Linked DNA regions of Homo sapiens: regions 1, 2 and 4 are each linked to region 3. Evidence: promoter capture Hi-C in human tissues and cell types (Jung and others, 2019). All regions are on one chromosome and are shown on one strand. Each heading gives the region's core, a stretch centred on a gene start or on the middle of the fragment in contact. The rest is flanking DNA. Distances are from core to core; before and after follow the strand shown. Region 1 has its middle 10 kb from the start of GSTP1. Region 2 overlaps LRP5 (LDL receptor related protein 5). Region 3 holds the start of NDUFS8 (NADH:ubiquinone oxidoreductase core subunit S8). Region 4 overlaps LRP5 (LDL receptor related protein 5).

Evidence for each region. Contacts are between HindIII fragments. The study calls those that stand out against the background at their distance.
Region 1: a contact is called between a fragment that was not itself captured here and the fragment with the promoter of NDUFS8 in region 3, in 1 of the 25 tissues and cell types used here (dorsolateral prefrontal cortex).
Region 2: a contact is called between a fragment that was not itself captured here and the fragment with the promoter of NDUFS8 in region 3, in 2 of the 25 tissues and cell types used here (bladder and dorsolateral prefrontal cortex).
Region 4: a contact is called between a fragment that was not itself captured here and the fragment with the promoter of NDUFS8 in region 3, in 1 of the 25 tissues and cell types used here (heart right ventricle).

The regions. Positions count from the first base shown.
Region 1 is chr11:67,592,510-67,595,209 of GRCh38, forward strand. No RefSeq gene overlaps it. Among named protein-coding and RNA genes, the nearest start is that of GSTP1, 10 kb to the left of the region's middle. The HindIII fragment of the contact is 3,217 bases long and covers 1-2,700 here.
Region 2 is chr11:68,318,508-68,321,207 of GRCh38, forward strand. All of the region lies in intron 1 of LRP5 (LDL receptor related protein 5), which reads left to right. It overlaps LOC124900302 (a long non-coding RNA gene), which reads left to right. Exons shown (of 2, transcript XR_007062749.1): 1 at 1-2,700. Among named protein-coding and RNA genes, the nearest start is that of LRP5, 7.3 kb to the left of the region's middle. The HindIII fragment of the contact is 3,073 bases long and covers 1-2,700 here.
Region 3 is chr11:68,029,378-68,032,077 of GRCh38, forward strand. It overlaps NDUFS8 (NADH:ubiquinone oxidoreductase core subunit S8), which reads left to right and starts at 1,304. Exons shown (of 7, transcript NM_002496.4): 1 at 1,304-1,356. It overlaps GLTC1 (glycolysis associated regulator of LDHA post-transcriptional modification 1), which reads right to left and starts at 1,057. Exons shown (of 4, transcript NR_197583.1): 1 at 916-1,057; 2 at 1-43. RefSeq lists enhancers at 1,045-1,339, 1,331-1,510. The HindIII fragment of the contact is 8,880 bases long and covers 1-2,700 here.
Region 4 is chr11:68,348,702-68,351,401 of GRCh38, forward strand. All of the region lies in intron 2 of LRP5 (LDL receptor related protein 5), which reads left to right. Among named protein-coding and RNA genes, the nearest start is that of LRP5, 37 kb to the left of the region's middle. The HindIII fragment of the contact is 8,182 bases long and covers 1-2,700 here.

The sequences.
Region 1 (2,700 bases), core at 143-2,642, 440 kb before region 3:
ACTAAAAAGTACAAAAATTAGCTGGGCATGGTGGTGGGTGCCTGTAATCCCAGCTACTCAGGAGGCTGAGGCAGGAGAATTGCTTGAACCTGGGAGGCGGAGGTTGCAGTGAGCTGAGATCGCGCCACTGCCCTCTAGCCTGAGCGACAAGAGGGAGACTGTCTCAAAAAAAAAAAAAGTTTCTATAAGCTTTGCCAATTTGATTTTTATTATTTGTGCATTTCACAAGTCTGGAAGACTGAGGGTGGTATGGACAATGGAAATGTTGAAAAATCAGCCATACGTTACAAATAAACTGAATTATTTGACCAGTGAAATGGGTTCATTAGTTTCCATGAAGATTGGAGGGAGCTCTCCAAGAAGGAATAGGGCAAGATTTAAAGTAGTCATGGTCAAAGATGCAATCAACAAAGAAATTTGGTCATTTTATTTTTTTGTGGCCTACTGAAACGGGAAGGGTTCCCTTGTCCCCCTTGCAGGGCATGTGATGGGGGAGTGGCTCGCTTCTTCAGTGCCCCGCTGCTCAGACCTGCAGGGGAGCATACAGATGGGCAGGTTGTGGGGCTCCAACCCACGGCAGCATCTAGGGGTGGATGTTTACAGCTCCTGAAGCCCTAGTGGGCATGTGTTACAGGGTGCTCTTTTAGTTTTGCCATCTATAGGCAGCTTGTGTTAACCAGCAGCTCAATTAGACCCTCTGCTTTGTTACAAGGACAGAGGGATTTCTGTATCCCAGGTTCTTGCCTTGGTGTACTGGAAGAATAGGATCACACCTGGGCTTGGAGAATGAGTGCAAGGTTTTATTGAGTGGAGGTAACTCTCAGCAGTTGGAGGAAGCCAGAAGGGCATGGAGTGGGAAGGTTTTGCCCTGGAGTCAGGCTGCTCAGCGGCCTGGGCTTGCCTTTGACTGCCCGGCCAAACTCCGCCTCGTTCTGCAGGTGGATGGCCTGCCGGCATGCTGGCGTCTGTCGTGTGCTCTTCCACCAGCCTGCTCCCTTCTGTGGCAGATTGGTCAGAGAGGTGGGAAGAACTATAGGGAAAGGACGCAAACCTTCTGAAAGGTGGGAAGGTTCTGCAGAGCCCTGGGGGAGAAGAACTGAAGGCAGCTCTTCTATAACCCTGAGGCAGAGGGCAAGGAGTAGGTACAAGGGAGTATGGGGGATTTTATCTTAAATAGGCATGTTTACTTATGTCGACCAGGAACTGACCTTAGATCATCTATGATCACCTATGATCATGTTTCAGGGAACATGAGGTTCCCTGAAAGGGGAATAATAAATATTAATGACTTACAGATTGTGTCGGCTCCAGGTTTTCGACATTGTGCCTGCACTGAATAAAAGCAAAGCAGCTCCAGCTTCTTCCACTAGAGCCAGGCAGTCACCTAGCTGCTCTTAACACTGCATACCTGTGTCTGGGTACTCATTTCCTCTGTTGGCCAGGGTCTGTGGGACAGAGCTGGCACCCCTCAATGACCTCTCAACGTCCAGCCACTTGTGTCTTCTTCTGCCAATGTGTTCCTCTCCACGTCCAGCTGCTTGTGTGTCTGCTTGCTAGGGTCTCAGGGTTTTTATAGGCACAGGATATGGGTGTGGTGGGCCAGGGTGCTCTTTGGAAATGCAATATTTGGGCAGGAAAACAAAAATGCCTGTCTTCACCCAGGTCCATGGGCACAGGCCTGGGGGTGGAGCCCTAGCCAGGGACTACACATTCCTCTACCCAGCACTTCCCTGCCCCCCTTCCGTATCACTATAATTCAACACAATACTTACAATAATGACTGATAATATATACCAACACATATCAGATTTTTAGGAATCTCATATAATTTTGGAACACATATTAATAACACATTTCACAAATATAACTCAAAGAAAGTTAAATGTCATTTCTTTTTTGACAATGCTTGCTGTGTAATTTTTACATGCCAAATAATACCAAGTTCTCTTGAACTTACATGGGTTTTTTTTTTCTTTTTCAAATGTTGAAACGTTAGTTTGAGGTCAAAATGGCTTAATTTAGAATTTGAATTTTCATTTTTGGAAGTTTGTCAAATACCAAAGCTTTAAAACACTTGATATTAAAATAGAAAAGGTTTAAAAGACTTGTTCAAAATAGAATCATGGGGAACTTCAAAATAATAGTCATTCATTTAGCCAAAGTGATAACTGAAAGATTTCAGAAAAGCTGGGTGTGGTGACTCACATCTGTAATCCCAGCACTTTGGGAAGCCAAGGTGGGAGGATCACCTGAAGTCAGGAGTTCGAGACCAGTCTGGCCAACATGGTGAAACCCTGTCTCCCCTAAAAATACAAAATTAGTTGGGCATGGTGGCAGGTGCCTGTAATCCCCGCTACTCAAGAGGCTAAGGCAGGAGAATCGCTTGAACACGGGGGGTGGGGGGAAGGTTGCATTGAGCCAAGTTCGCACCATTGCACTGTAGCCTGGGCAAAAAGAGCGAAACTCCATCTAAAAAAAAAAAAGATTTCCGAAAGCAAAAACCTTTATTGTTTGATAGAGAGGAGACTCAGTTTTCTAAACAATCCAAAGACCTAATGAAGGAAGCATAAGGCAAACTCGCTCCTCTTTTTTTATTTTTTTCACTTTGCAGTTTGCTCAAAAGGCAAACAAAAATCTTTTACAATCTCTTATTACTACTACATGAAAATCTCGTTTAAAAGAGAAAACTAAATTCTACCT
Region 2 (2,700 bases), core at 161-2,660, 290 kb after region 3:
TTGTTGTTTTTTGTAGAGACAGGGTTTCACTATGTTGCCCAGGCTGGTCTTGAACTCCTGGGCTCAAGCGATCCACCCACCTCAGCCTCCCAAAGTGCTGGGATTACAGACATGAGCCACTGCGCTGGGCCTTAATGTAGTTTTTCTTGTGGTTAAACTGAGGTGAAGGTTCACTCAAGGAGGAAAGTGGTTTTTAGCCTTTTGAGGGGCTCAAGGACCCCTTCAAGGATATGACAACGGCTCCTCTCCTGAGAAGGTGCCTGGTGGGGGCGGCACAGGCTCCACTCCACCCCATTGCAAGAATCCAGGGCCCTGCAGGGCTCAGAGCCCTCTCCCTGCCTCCCTGTGGGGCATTGAGAGGCACTCACCTTCTGAGGGCCTCAGTTTCCTTTTTTTGTAAAATAGAACCAGCTGATTCCAATCTCTATGGTCTCTTCTAGCACGGAGCTTCACGTTTTTTCTCCCTTCAGGATCCTGAGGCCTCTGGATCGCTAGAGATTGGGGGTGCCCCCAGAAGAGGCGCTGCTTCTGTGCCCTCCCTCACCCCACCGTGCCTGGCTCCTTGTTTTTTTTTTTTTTTTTTTTTTTGAGACAGGAGTCTCACTCACGCCCAGGATGGAGTGCGGTGGCACGATCTCGGCTCACTGTAACTTCTGCCACCCTGGTTCAAGCGATTCTTGTGCCTCAGTAGCTGGGACTACAGGCATCTGCCACCATGCCCAGCTAATTTTTGTATTTTTAGTAGAGACAGGGTTTTGCCACGTTGGCCAGGCTGGTCTCGAACTCCTGACCTCAAGTGATCTGCCTGCCTCGGCCTCCCAAAGTGCTGGGATTACAGGCGTGAGCCACCATGCCCAGCCTGCCTGGCTGATTTTTTAAAATTTGTCGTTGAGATGGGTGTCTTGCTTTGCTGCCCAGGCTGGCCTTGAACTCCTGGGATCAAGCGATCCTCCCACCTCAGCCTCCCAAAGTGTTGGGATTACAGGCATGAGCCGCTGTGCCCAGCCTATTTTATTATTATTATTATTTAATTTTATTTTTTCTCACTATTGCCCAGCTCCTGGCCTCCAACTCCTGGGCTCAAAGGATCTTCCTGCCTCAGCCTCCTGAGTAGCTGGGACTGCAGGCATGTGCCATCACACCCTACTTTGTACTTTTGCTTTTCTGTCTTTGCTCTTGTTAAAAGCCAAGTGCCATTTCATAGTACACAGGTGCACTTGACAGCATTTACCTGATTGAGGAGTTTTTCCAGCCTTCATTGCTATTACAAAGCATGCTTGCTCGTGTGTCTCTGCATGTGTATAAGTGTTTTTATAGGATACATTCCTAGTCAAAGAGTGTGTCCATTTCTGTTTTTAAAGATATTGAGGCCGGGCACAGTGGCTCATCCAGGTAATCCCAGCACTTTGGGAGGTTGAGGCAGGAGGATCACTTGAGTCCAGGAGTTCGAGACCAGCCTGGGCAAAATTGGGAGACCCCCCATGTCTACAAAAAATTTAAAAAATTAGCTGAGTATGATTGCACACTCCTGTAGTCTCAGCTACTTGAAAGGCTGAGGTGGGAAAATCTATTGAGCTCAGGAGGTCAAGGCTGCAGTAAGCCATGATCACAGCACTGCAACAGATCTAGCCTGGGCAACAGAGCGAGACCCTGTCTCAAATACATACATACAAGCATACATACATACATAACTCCTAAAAGGCTGTAGCAGTTCATACCTGCAAGCATCTACGAGAACACACACTTTCCTATATCCTCTCTGATGCTGGCAATTACAAGATTTTGGTTTTTGGTGTTTTCTTTGGTCCAGTTTGGTTAAAAATTATAACACCTTTTGATTTGCACAACCCTCATTTCTGGTTTATTGGTATTTACTTTTCTGCAAATTGCCTACACTTATCCTTGGCCCATTTTTCTGTTGTCTTTTTCTTTTCTTTTTTCTTCTTCTTCTTTTTTTTTTTTTTTTGAGACAGAGTCTCGCTGTGTCCTCCAGGCTGGAGTGCAGTGGCGCGATTGCCATCTTGGTTCACTGCAACCTCTGCCTCCCGGGTTCCAGCTGTTCTCCTGGCTCAGCCTCCCAAGTAGCTGGGACTACAGGCATGCGCCACCACGCCTGGCTAATTTTTGTATTTTTGGTAGAGACAGGGTTTCACCATGTTGGCCAGGCTGGTCTCGAACTCCTGACCTCAAGTGACCTACCCATCTCCGCCTCCCAAAGTGCTGGGATTACAGACATAAGCCACGGTGCCAGCCTGTTTATCTTTTTCTTATAGATTTGTGGGAGGTCTTTATTTGGTATGGACTTTAATTCTTTGTTCTGTTTGTTTCAGGTTTCACTGCTGGTCTGTAGCTAGTCCTTCATCCTTGTTTCTGGTGGTACATTATCATAAAGATATTAAGAAGCTTCATATAATCATAACTCTACTTTTTCCCTATGGCTTTTTTCCTATCCCTTGTTACTCCATCTCCAGATTATAAATATATCCTCCATTATTTTCTTCCAGGACTGTTACTGTTTTATGTTTTACATTCAGACATTATTCTGTCTGGGTTTTTTTTTTTTTTTTTTTTTTGTATATGGTATGAGGTAGGGGTCTGGCCAGTGAATAGGGAGTTGTCCAACACCTTGGTGGGATGGTCCATCCTATCCATTCATTGTAAATGCTGCTCTTTTATGTGTAGTGTCCACAGACACCTGGG
Region 3 (2,700 bases), core at 54-2,553:
CAATCCACGCAGGAATCCCCGCAGGCATCCACGCAGGAATCACCTGATGAAGGGCCAGGGTCAGGTGTGGGCCACCATCCCAAGACCTCCCTTCTCTCTAGGGCCAGCCCCTCTCCTCTGAGCACCTGCTGACCAGCCCAAAGCCCTCTCCACTCCTCAGCTTGAACTCCCCCAGGGTCTCCCTGTGGCCCACAGGTCCTTTGGAGGCTCGGGCATCTGCATGCAAATCCCAAACCACTGTCCCCTTTGCACACACTGAGCCTGCCCTTGTCCTCGTCCTGGTCTACCATGCGTGTCCTCCCTCTGCACGGGCATGGGACATGCCCTCTGCCTCCTTCCTGTCCTGGCCTGCCCAACTCCTACCTACCCTCAGCGCAGATCCTCCCAACACACACATGCAGGCAGCCTCGGGGCCTCTGCGGGTCCCTCTACCACAGCATTCCCGGGGAAAGGCCCGGCGTGGTGGCTCACGCCTGTAATCCCAGCACTTTGGCAGGCCGAGGCAGGAGGATCGCCTGAGTCCAGGAGTTCCAGACCAGCCTGGGCAACATGGCGAGACCCCGTCTCTACAAAAAATACAAAAATTAGCCGAGCCTGGTGGTGGCAGGCGACTGTGGTTCCAGCTGCTCGGGAGGCTGAGAAGTGAGGATCACCCGAGCCTGGGAGGTCGAGGCTGCAGTGAGCCGAGATCGCACCACTGCATTCCAGCCTGAGCCACAGAGCCAGATTGTCTCAAAAAAAGAAAAAAAAAAAAAAAAAAAAAAAAATTCGCTGGTAGGAAACATAGGCTGGTTGAGTACGGGAGTCATACAGATCAGGTGGATCAGGCGGCCGCACACCGCAGCTCTACGGCCCGGGAACGTTACTAAATACTCCCATGCCTCAGCTTCCCGCCTTAACGTGGTAACACGTTACTGTAGTTTCTCCACGCAGAGCTGCTGTGAGGATTAAAAGAGGCCGCGTGAGTTGAGCATCTCGTCGCCATTACCGTCATCACACGCCCCCCACCCAACCCGGCGGGCCCACCCTCTGCACCCACGGCGAAAGCACTCTTTCTAAACCACGCCCCGGATGTCCCGCCTCCAGCGGCTCGGAGGTCTTCACTTATTGGCCTCCCCAAACCAACATGGCGGCCCCCTACAAACTTCAAGCGCCGGTCTCTCCTAGCCAATCAAAAGAAAGATATTTCTGAATCCCGCCTCTTTCAGCAGCCTTGCTGGCCAATCAGACCACACCATGAAGCATCAATACAGAAAAGGGGGAACCCGCTGGCCCAATGGCAGCGTCCTACAGTGTAGCCTCCGCCTCCCGATTGACTGGCCTGCTTGGCAAGGCAAGTAGCGGCGGCGCTTCAAGGTGGGTGTTCACGTTTTGGCCGTGAAAGTCGGGCTTGGGCAGCGTGGCGTCGGGGGCGAGTGTGGTGTCCCCGTTGGCGCCGCCAGCTCTGCGCCTGGGCTTCCCCTCGGCTCACTCAGGATCCGCGGCCTCCGTGTCCTTCAGGTGCAGCGGGGAGCCGGCTCTCAGGGCGCATGCGCCGCCCGCTCTGCGCCACCGGCCTAGTTAGGGTCGGAGATCACTGGGAAGGTGGGGAAGGTGCTGGGTTGGGTCCCTGGAACTGCAGTCAGTGATCCAAAGGAGTGGGCCTGTTAGGGGGTTCACAGGTCGTGGGATGAGCTCTTATGAGCGCCGGCTAAGTGCCGGGCTCTGGGGTGCCCTTGGCATGTACGGGCTCCCCTAATTCCCAAGACCAACCGCCCCCAACCCACTTCATAGGTGAGAAGACGGAGGTCAGGTCACATCATCTGCCCAAGGTCACGCGGCAGGCTGGGGGACAGTTCCAGGAGGGCCTTGAAGCTGGGGAAAGGAATGTGGTACCGAGGACTGTTCAGGCCTTGAAGAGTTTCCAGCAGGGCAGGGCTGGGTTCCGATCCTCGGCCCACCTCCTTATCGTGTGACTTCCGACAAGTCACTTTTTTATCTTTTTTTTGAGACAAGGTCTCACTCTGTCGCCCAGGTTGGAGGGCAGTGGTGCAGTCTGGGCTCACTGCAACTTCTGCCTCCTGGGTTCAAGCGATTCTCCTACCTCAACCTCCCGAGTAGCTGGGATTATAAGTGCCCACCACCACACCTGGCTAATTTCTGTATTTTTTGGTAGGGACGGGGTTCCACCATGTTAGCCAGGCTGGTCTCAAACTCCTGACCTCAGGTGATCCACCTGCCTCAGCCTCCCAAAGTGCTGGGATTACAGGCGTGAGCCACCACACCCAGCCCTAGCGAGTCACTCAACAAACTGAGTCCCAGCGCCTTATTTGTGCCTCCCTCGTGGAGTCCTTGTAAGGATAGGATGGCAGCGCTTTCCACCCCTGGGCACGGTTCCTGGGGGAGGAGAGCTAACAAAGTTCGCTCTCAGTGCATGCTGGCGGGGGCTGGTAATGTTGTTTTTGGTTAGATTTGGGGAGGATGAAGGGAGGAGCAGAAAGGTGGGAAACAGGATCTCTGGGAGGGAGAAAGGAAGGATGGATTTAAAAGGTTTCTTAGGTGAGGCAGAACTTGGGGTCCACAGAAACTGAATTGTAGCTCAGCCAAGCTGAATCAGATGGAAAGCTGGGAGGCGCTGGGAACAGGAAAGCCATCTGTGCCTCTGACAGCAATGGGGTGCGAGTAGAGGGCAAAGTGACACATGTCAGTGGAGACTTGGGA
Region 4 (2,700 bases), core at 25-2,524, 320 kb after region 3:
GGGAGGCCAAGGCGGGCAGATCACCTGAGTCCAGGAATTCAAGACCACACTGGGCAACATGGTGAGACCCCATTTCTACAAAGTATACAAAAATGAATCGGGTGTGATGGTATGCACCTGTAATCCCAGCTTCTTGGGAGGCTGAGGTAGGAGGATCATTTGAGCCTGGGAGATCGAGGCTGCAGTGAGCTGTGATCCCACCACTGCACTCCAGCCTGGGCGACAAAGTGAGGAGATCCTGTCTCAAAAAAAAAAAAGAGCTCAGCTTTCAAGATTTGTTATTGTTGAAGGAATTACTTCCCCTTGAGATTCCATAGTTATGTTCCTTTTTTTTTTTTTTTTTTTTAATTGAGATGGAGTCTCCCTTGTTGCCCAGGCTGGAGTGCAGTGGCACAATCTCGGCTCACTGCAACCTTCGCCTCCCGGGTTCAAGTGATTCTCCTGCCTCAGCTTCCCAAGTAGCTGGGATTACAGGCGCCCACCACCACGCCCAGCTAATTTTTGTAGTTTTGGTACAGATGGGGTTTCACCATGGTGTCTAGGCTGGTCTCGAACTCCTGACCTCAGGTGATCCACCCACCTCGGCCTCCCAAAGTGCTGGGATTACAGACGTGAACCACCGTGCCTGGCCCATAGTTATGTTCCTTTTTAAAACTTGCATGTCTGAGGCAACCGATGTGGTTGGCCATGGGTTTGAATGGTTAAACACATCTTTGCTGTGTGTATGGTGGGCGGCCTGGGAAGTGCGGACGCTCAGGCAGGTGGAATTTGCACCTTCTCCTGGCTTTCTAATTGCATTGGCTGAAAAAGTGCAGCTCCTTGTCTGGAAGCAGAACCTGCTGGGAGTGGTTCTCGGGTCCGTTCTGGAAGCTGCCCTGTGTCCTCCTCAGCTCCTAGTCTGGCTGAGTTCACCTGGGCCCTTGAAGGCTCAGGGCCTGGCCGTGATCCCAGGTGGGGAGAGCGTGGGTGGCAGGAAAGCTTTGGAGTCGAAGTCCGGGGTGGAGAGTTTAAGGGGAGGTGGCCCAGCTCCACTGGCCAGCTAGGCCAGGTCACCCCAGACTCCCGAGCAGAGGGAACAGTTTGCTTGGCCACCCCTTGTCCCTCCTTTGTCCCTTTTCTTGCAGCCTGGGAGTGACTCTGGGGGCCGTACACACACCCTTACCTGGGCTGTGCTAAGCCCTGGCCCTTGCTGACCTGTCAGGTTCTGTGCTGGGTCAGTGTCAGAACTGGTTGGCAGAGGTCTTGACTAGAACACAAGAGCCATTTCCCACCACCCCCAGGCTCAGTTGGAAGCCCTTTGCCTGTTAGTTCATTCAGTGTCACCACAGTCTCTCAGCACTCCCAGCCTGGACCTCACCGGTTGAGGGGCCGGCCTAGATCTTCTTTGCGCAATGGCACGATCTCAGCTCACTGCAACCTCCACCTCCCGAGTTCAAGTGATTCTCCTGCCTCAGCCTCCTGAGTAGCTGTGATTACAGGCGTGCACTACCACACCTGGCTAGGTTTTGTATTTTTAGTAGACACAGGGTTTCGCCATGTTGGCCAGGCTGGTCTCAAACTCCTAACCTCAAGTGATCCACCCTCCTCGGCCTCCCAAAGTGTTGGGATTGCAGGCGTGAGCCACTGCACCCAGCCTGACCTAGATCTTCTAGGTTAGAAAGTCCCAGGAGTGGGCGGCCATGCATCCAGGCCTGCCACAGGAGCCCGCCTGCCCTCCTCCCTGAAGTCAGGGCTCTGGAAGCCCTTCCCTTGGCCATGCCCTGTGGGACAGTGTCCAAGCTCTGGAGTAGGACTGAAGACCCCTGGGCTCTAGTCCTGGGGCCACCAACTTGCTGTTGCCCTTTGCAGTGACCTCCCCCTGACTCCCATGGTGCCGGCTGCAGGAGCCGGGCGGGAGGGGCTGGTTGCCAGATCCTGCAGATGCCCCTCCTCTGGGCCTGCCCAGGGTAGTGGGAATGAGGGTGTGGGGTGAGGGTCTGTCCTCACCAAGGCTGGTGTTTGGGAGCTCAGGAAGCAGAGTGCCATGTGGCCAAGTTCACCTCTTTGATCTGTGTGGTGACTTAGGAAGCCATTGACTGGCTTCTGACGAGCATGGGAAGGGCTGGAGCCTTTCAGAGCCCAACAGGTTTGTGTGAGAGCCAGGCGTGTGTGTGTCTGAGCAACTGAGTGTGGGAGTGGGAGGATGTGAGCGTGTGTGTGTGTGTGTGCGTGTGCACGCATATGCGTGCATACGTGTGAGCCTGTGTGTGTCCGTGTGTGTGCATGCATGCGTGTGAGTGGATATTTGTGTGTGTATGAGTGTGCGCATGTGACTGTGTGTGCACGTGTATGTGCCCGTGTGAGCGAGTATGTGCGCGAGAGTGTCTGCATCTGAACCAGTCTGTGTGTAAGTATGGGGTACCAGCAGGGGTGGGACACGGTGGAATTTATCGCCAAAGTATTTTGAGTCCCTGAGGTCAGGCCAGAGCAGCCTCGTGCCCCCACTACCTGAGAAGTGCCCCCGGCCTCCCAGGGGTGCTGTGCTGGGCAACCACTCATCCCTGGAGCCCCTCGTATGCCCTCGCTGCCCTCCGAGTGGGCTAGCCACCCCTGCAGCTGCCGGGGAGCCAGCTGACCTCCGGGGCAGCCTCTGTTCCGCTTGGTGAACTGTTGCCCTCTCAGCCCTCTCCCCCTGCACTGTGGCTCCAGGAGTCGCGGGGT